2 separate regions of the Homo sapiens genome follow, and region 2 is linked to region 1. The links are contacts of gene promoters, found by promoter capture Hi-C in human tissues and cell types (Jung and others, 2019). All regions are on one chromosome and are shown on one strand. The core of a region is centred on a gene start or on the middle of the fragment in contact, and the rest is flanking DNA. Distances in the headings are between cores, read along the strand shown.

Region 1 (3,074 bases), core at 421-2,920:
GGCCCAGCCTTACTTCTCGGAGTTGCATGGCTGGTGAACTGGTCCCCAGAGCATGGGTTATAATCCTACTTTCTCAGGAGCAAATTCTACAGGAGGCCTGGGAGCTAACAGTCATGTGACAGCCTGGAAGGTCAGAACTTCACTCTCCAGAACTATGTCAACTAGATCATAAGGTGGGGAAAAGCCACGTGACTGCCTGCCTGCCAGGGAAGCAAACAACTGCTGTCTCAGCCTTGGTATGAACCCTTCTCCCACCTGGTGCTGAGAGCAATTTTGGTGACATCCATGGCTTAGCTGCAATGACATCTCTACCTCTTAAAGGCCTTTGGTTCCTGAGCTAATTAAACGTCCCAGACAGAAAGGACATGCTTAATCTTATTAATAACTTCTGGTCAGGAAACAGTGTGCCCAGCCCTCTGAGGGAGTGCCTTTCTGAACCACCTCCATTTGTTCAGGTGCTTGGCGATTGCTATCAGCCCTTTCAAGAGATTAAGTTTGTACGCAGGAGCAAGCCACTTAGGTAATGGATCCCGGGGCCCTGGGAGTGTCTGGTGACTGTGGAGTGTGCAGCCAGCCAGCACCTTGGCTCATTCAGATTCCAGAACCACTGTTTTCCAACTTCCTGCTCTTCAGAACCATTGGGGGGTAGGGAGGGACTTGACTATCGAGGAGAAGAGGGGGACTCTCCTATCTCTGGCTGTTCACCCAGCCCTTTCACACAGAGGGAAGCTGGGGACTGTCCTTGCCCTGAGGAGCCTCACAGCTCAGTGGGGTCACAGATACAAACAATGTGAGCAAATAAGGACAATACCACATTAGACTGGAAACAGTGGAGGTGAGCACATGATGCCCTGTGGGTGTATACCGTTGGTAACTGCTCCAGCCTGGGGGTTCAGGGAAGGCTTCCTGGAAGAAGAAACAGGTGAGATGAGAAATGAGAGTTACAAGCTGAAAATCGGCTGGGCATGGTGGCTCACACCTGTAATCCCAGCACTTTGGGAGGCCAAGGAGGCCGGATCACCTGAGGTTAGGAGTTCCAGAGGAGCCTGGCCAACATGGTGAAACCCCGTCCCTACTAAAAATACAAAAATTAGCTGGGCGTGGTGGGGCGCGCCTGTAATTCCAGGTGCTCAGGAGGCTGAGGCAGGAGAATCGTTTGAAACTGGGAGGCGGAGGTTGCAGTGAGCCGAGAACACACCATTGCACCCCAGCCCGGGCAAAAAGAGCGAAACTCCGTGTCAAAAAAATAGTAATAATAATAAATAAAATTTTTAAAAAGCTGAAAATCTCCCCCGTTGAGGGGAGATCTGTTGAGGGGACTGTGAAATGGAATTCCCTGACTGGGTTTCGTGCAGGCTTTAGTATAAGGCTGGAAGGATGGAAATAGCTCCCTCATCAATTTACGGGACAGTGGTTGGTGAAGCCTTAAAATGCCAATGTTCCAGGAACACTGTTATCGGTTCCAGGACTATTGTTGCTTTAAGCCCCCACCTTGAGCATTCAGAGAAGAGAGATTACTAAGACGAAGTTGCAGATGTCTCTTTAAAAAAGGAGAGAGGATTCCTCGAGCCACGCCCTCTTCTCATTAATATTAAATTATTGTGAATATTGATGTGGGGGCGTGGCGCCTTGGCCAGCTGGGCTAGCCAGCCAGGGGTTCCCGGTTTCACAGAGAGGAAAGTGACAGAAGACGTGCGGAGGGAGACGCAGAGACAGAGGAGAGGCCGGCAGCCACCCAGTCTCGGGGGAGCACTTAGCTCCCCCGCCCCGGCTCCCACCCTGTCCGGGGGGCTCCTGAAGCCCTCAGCCCCAACCCCGGGCTCCCCATGGAAGCCAGCTGTGCCCCAGGAGGAGCAGGAGGAGGTGGAGTCGGCTGAATGCCCACGGTGCGCCCGGGGCCCCTGAGCCCATCCCGCTCCTAGCCGCTGCCCTAAGGCCCCCGCGCGCCCCGCGCCCCCCACCCGGGGCCGCGCCGCCTCCGTCCGCCCCTCCCCCGGGGCTTCGCCCCGGACCTGCCCCCCGCCCGTTTGCCAGCGCTCAGGCAGGAGCTCTGGACTGGGCGCGCCGCCGCCCTGGAGTGAGGGAAGCCCAGTGGAAGGGGGTCCCGGGAGCCGGCTGCGATGGACGCCGTCTTGGAACCCTTCCCGGCCGACAGGCTGTTCCCCGGATCCAGCTTCCTGGACTTGGGGGATCTGAACGAGTCGGACTTCCTCAACAATGCGGTAAGATGAAGGGTCTCCGTTCCCGTTCCACCCCTCGGCACCCGTCCTCGCGGCGCGCCTGGGCCCCTAGAAGGACCCGACTACACATCACTGGGCAGGAGCCGGGGAGAGGGTTCAGCGCAGGGTCTCCAGGAGCGACATGTGTTTGGAGCTAAGCGCCCCTCCTGGGGGCTCAATCTTTGAATACACTGGCCTCCACCTTCTAGGGGGAAGGGGCCATCGAGGTATCGGGTCCGTCCGATCCTCGGATCTGAGCTCAAGAGACACCAATCCCGCCCTCCACCCACGTCTTCTAGCCGTCCCCAACCCACCCCAGGTTCCAGGACCAGACTGGGCGCAAAGTGGCAGCGCCCTTTCCTGCGCCTCCCTTGGGGCTTCGGTGGCTCATAGGCTGGATCTCCGCTGGGGGGCGCACCGGGGAACGTTCAGAGGGCCTGAGACCCGACCCCTCGGGGAAGCCAGGCCCAGAAATTTCAGGGTGCTACCCTGGCAGCCCCAGGGAATCAGGCCCAGAGACCCCCCACCCCAGGGAGGGACCTGAGGCTGGGGGCTGGGAAGAGGCGGTCAGGGCAACATAGGGTGATGGCTCAGGAGGAGGGAGCCATTTCTCTCCATCTGCCTCTAGATCTCTGCTCTGTCCCTCTGTTCCTGGAGTCTGGCTGACTTTCTCCCTCTCCCTATGTCTTCTTGACTAGGTCCGACTGTGAGCTTGTCTTTCTCCTCTTTCTCACTCTTCCCCTCCCTCCCTAAGGAAACGTGGCTTCTCTCTCTTCTTCCCTCCCTCCCTCTCTCAGGCTCAGCCCTAAGGCCTTGATGGGGGAGGGGCACGGACTTAGAATGGGAGAAAATATT
Region 2 (3,020 bases), core at 246-2,745, 190 kb before region 1:
TCTTTGCACCTATAAAGCTTGTAGCTAGAGCAGCTTTTTAGCATTCATATAAATTGGGGAATGGAACAATCAGGAAGTTAGAGGAACCACTACTCCTTAAACCAATACAATAAGATTCATGATCTTCATATTTCTAAATATTATTTACCTATGGGTACAGTCTATATTCAACCTAAGTTTTCTAAGAGTCCTTTGAAAACTGGTTTAACAGAGTTATAATGGAATCATTAACTAGGGAGTATATTCTTGTGAATATGAGTTTTCAATATATTTGCTTATTCTCATTAGGCATAAAACATCAGCAGAAATCTCTCTCTCAGGGCTTATATACTAGATTATATAACATCAAAATACTCAAACCTAAAAAAGAATAAATTCCAAAAGTGCAAAATTCCTTTAAATTCACATTTGCAAAGGATAGGAAAAATTTACTGTATAATGATAATGTTAAACAAAACATTTTAAAAGGCAGTATATTTAAGGGAGTTATTAACAATTTAGAAAGGGAGACATACTATGGTGAACAAATCTGGGTAGTTTTAGCTACTATCTTTTTTTTTTTTTGAGAAAGAGTCTCGCTCTGTCGCCCAGGCTGGAGTGCAGTGGCACGATCTCAGCTCACTGCAAGCTCCGCCTCCCAGGTTCATGCCATTCTCCTGCCTCAGCCTCCTGAGTAGCTGGGACTACAGGTGCCCGCCACTACACCCGGCTAATTTTTTTGTATTTTTAGTAGAGACGGGGTTTCACCGTGTTAGCCAGGATGGTCTTGATCTCCTGACCTCGTGATCCGCCCGTCCTGGCCTCCCAAAGTGCTGGGATTACAGGCATGAGCCACCGCACCCAGCCAGCTATTATCTTTTAAAATATTTGGAATGATAACCAATCAATCAATAAATATCAGAATCATTAAGTCACTAAGACCAAGATTTTTGTTATCATGTAAGCTTACTCTACCTGCAATACTAAAGTTAAAACTACACAGCCACTTTAATTTTAAATAACAAAATAATCTCCCTACTCAAATTCCTGATTATGTATTACAGTTCTTCTTGAAAACAACACTTGGTTTTAATTTTTACAAGGCTCTACCAGAAAATGTGTCCAAAATGATTCCTTATAATTTTTGTCAAGAATCACTTTGAAGTTGAAGGTGTATTTTTCAAATATTCGTACTTCATTCTACTGACAGTAACATAAAACCATAGTTCAATTCAATTCACATAAACTCTGGAAATGAACGGCAGGTTAAAACACAAAGAACTTAACATTATACATAACAAAGGGCTAATACAGTTTATATATTTAGGGCCCTCAAAAATTGATAACAAAAATCTATGAAAAAACAATTTACAGAAGAAATAAGAATGACCAACAAACATGAAAAACTTCCATCTTTTAAGACACAGAAATATAACTAAGATTATATGCTTTGTCTATCAAACTGAAGACCTATAAGATAATAATACTCTGAGCTGTCTAGAATTTGTGTCAGGTGCCACTTCGCAATTTGCTGATGGTTATCTCTAGGTAGTAGCACTGTCAGTTATTTACTTTCTTCTTTTTGGGGTATTGATATTTTCAAAATTTTCCATAAAAAATATGCACATCTTTTTAAACAAGAAGACATTAACCAAGGATTTGTAGATAAAGCATCAGAAAACATTATACTATCAAACAAAATGCTCAGGAAAAGAAAAAGTTAAAACCAGGGTTTAACTTGAAGACTGTAAATGTCAAAGAGTGCCTCGCACAATAATAAGCCTGCAACTCAAGTTAATGAGGAGCCGATGGCTTTTACTTTCTCCATCAGATTGTTGTCTGCTTCTCAGAGATACACAAAGGCATGAAGTTTTATTCAGCAAGGACTCTAAATGCCAATTACTCATTTTATTTCAAAATAAAACTAAAAGGGTTAAAAAAGTTAGGACTAGTTGTAGAAAAACATATGAAGGATTAGAAGATTCATTTGAAATTCTTTTTCTTTTCTTCAGAAAGATCTCTTTCTGGATAGTAATTTTAAGAGACTGGTCTGTGCGGAAAGAAACAAATTACAGACATGTATTTATAGTTTACAAAAACAAGGCAGGTACATGTTGAATCTTGTTTGTTTAATTTTATTTTTTCTTGTAGAGAAGGGGTCTCATATGTTGCCCAGGCTGGTCACGAATACATGCTGAATATTTTGAAAAAATTTTTTTCCTGAGATAGGGTCTTACTGTGTCACCCAGGCTAAAGTGCAGTGGTGCGATCACGGCTCACTGCAGCCTCAACTTGCTGGGCTCAAGTGATCCTCCTGCCTTAGCATCTTGAGTAGCTGTGACTACAGGTGTGCCCCACCATACCTGGCTAATTTTTGTATTTTTTTGTAGTGACAGGGTTTCGCCATGTTGCCTAGGCTGGTCTTGAGCTCCTGGGCTAAAGTGACCCATCCACCTTCAGCCTCCCAAAGTGTGGGATTACAGGTGTGAGCCACTGCACCCAGCTGAAAAAATATTTTGAGGTCTTGGACATCTCATGCAGTCATCTGAATACCACTGGGAGGCAGTTTATAGCATCAAAAGAATTATTGGCTACATTTGTAAAAGATGATTTAACATATTTTGACCAATTCTAACAAGTTATAAATAACAAATCAGTTGCTGCAAAGTGAATACCATCAGACTCACAAGACAGTAACACACTGCATTCCACCATAATGAGTGACTCTCACCATCCAACAGCTCTACAAGTCACTATCAGCAAGGCCACTTGCCTAGCCCAAAATATTAGCATTTGCAATCTTCCAAACGGTACATGTCAAACCATTCTGATATCTAATGGCCTCTAACTTTCCAATAACAACAACAACAACAACAACAACAACAAAACATAAAAACCAAACACACAAACCAAACACACAAAAACAATAATAAAATCCCACTAAAAAGGTCAGCCATGGTATCTGGAAAGCACATTCACCATCCCAAAAAACAAAAAATGCTAATTCTACTTACTCACTGTGTGACTACTCTCATCCCCAG

Evidence for each region. Contacts are between HindIII fragments. The study calls those that stand out against the background at their distance.
Region 2: a contact is called between a fragment that was not itself captured here and the fragment with the promoter of CREB3L1 in region 1, in 2 of the 25 tissues and cell types used here (dorsolateral prefrontal cortex and hippocampus).

Annotation. Positions count from the first base shown.
Region 1 is chr11:46,275,992-46,279,065 of GRCh38, forward strand. It overlaps CREB3L1 (cAMP responsive element binding protein 3 like 1), which reads left to right and starts at 1,671. Exons shown (of 12, transcript NM_052854.4): 1 at 1,671-2,222. The coding sequence starts at 2,121. The HindIII fragment of the contact is 8,009 bases long and covers 1-3,074 here.
Region 2 is chr11:46,085,573-46,088,592 of GRCh38, forward strand. The region is part of intron 3 of PHF21A (PHD finger protein 21A); the gene reads right to left. Among named protein-coding and RNA genes, the nearest start is that of PHF21A, 34 kb to the right of the region's middle. The HindIII fragment of the contact is 3,241 bases long and covers 1-3,020 here.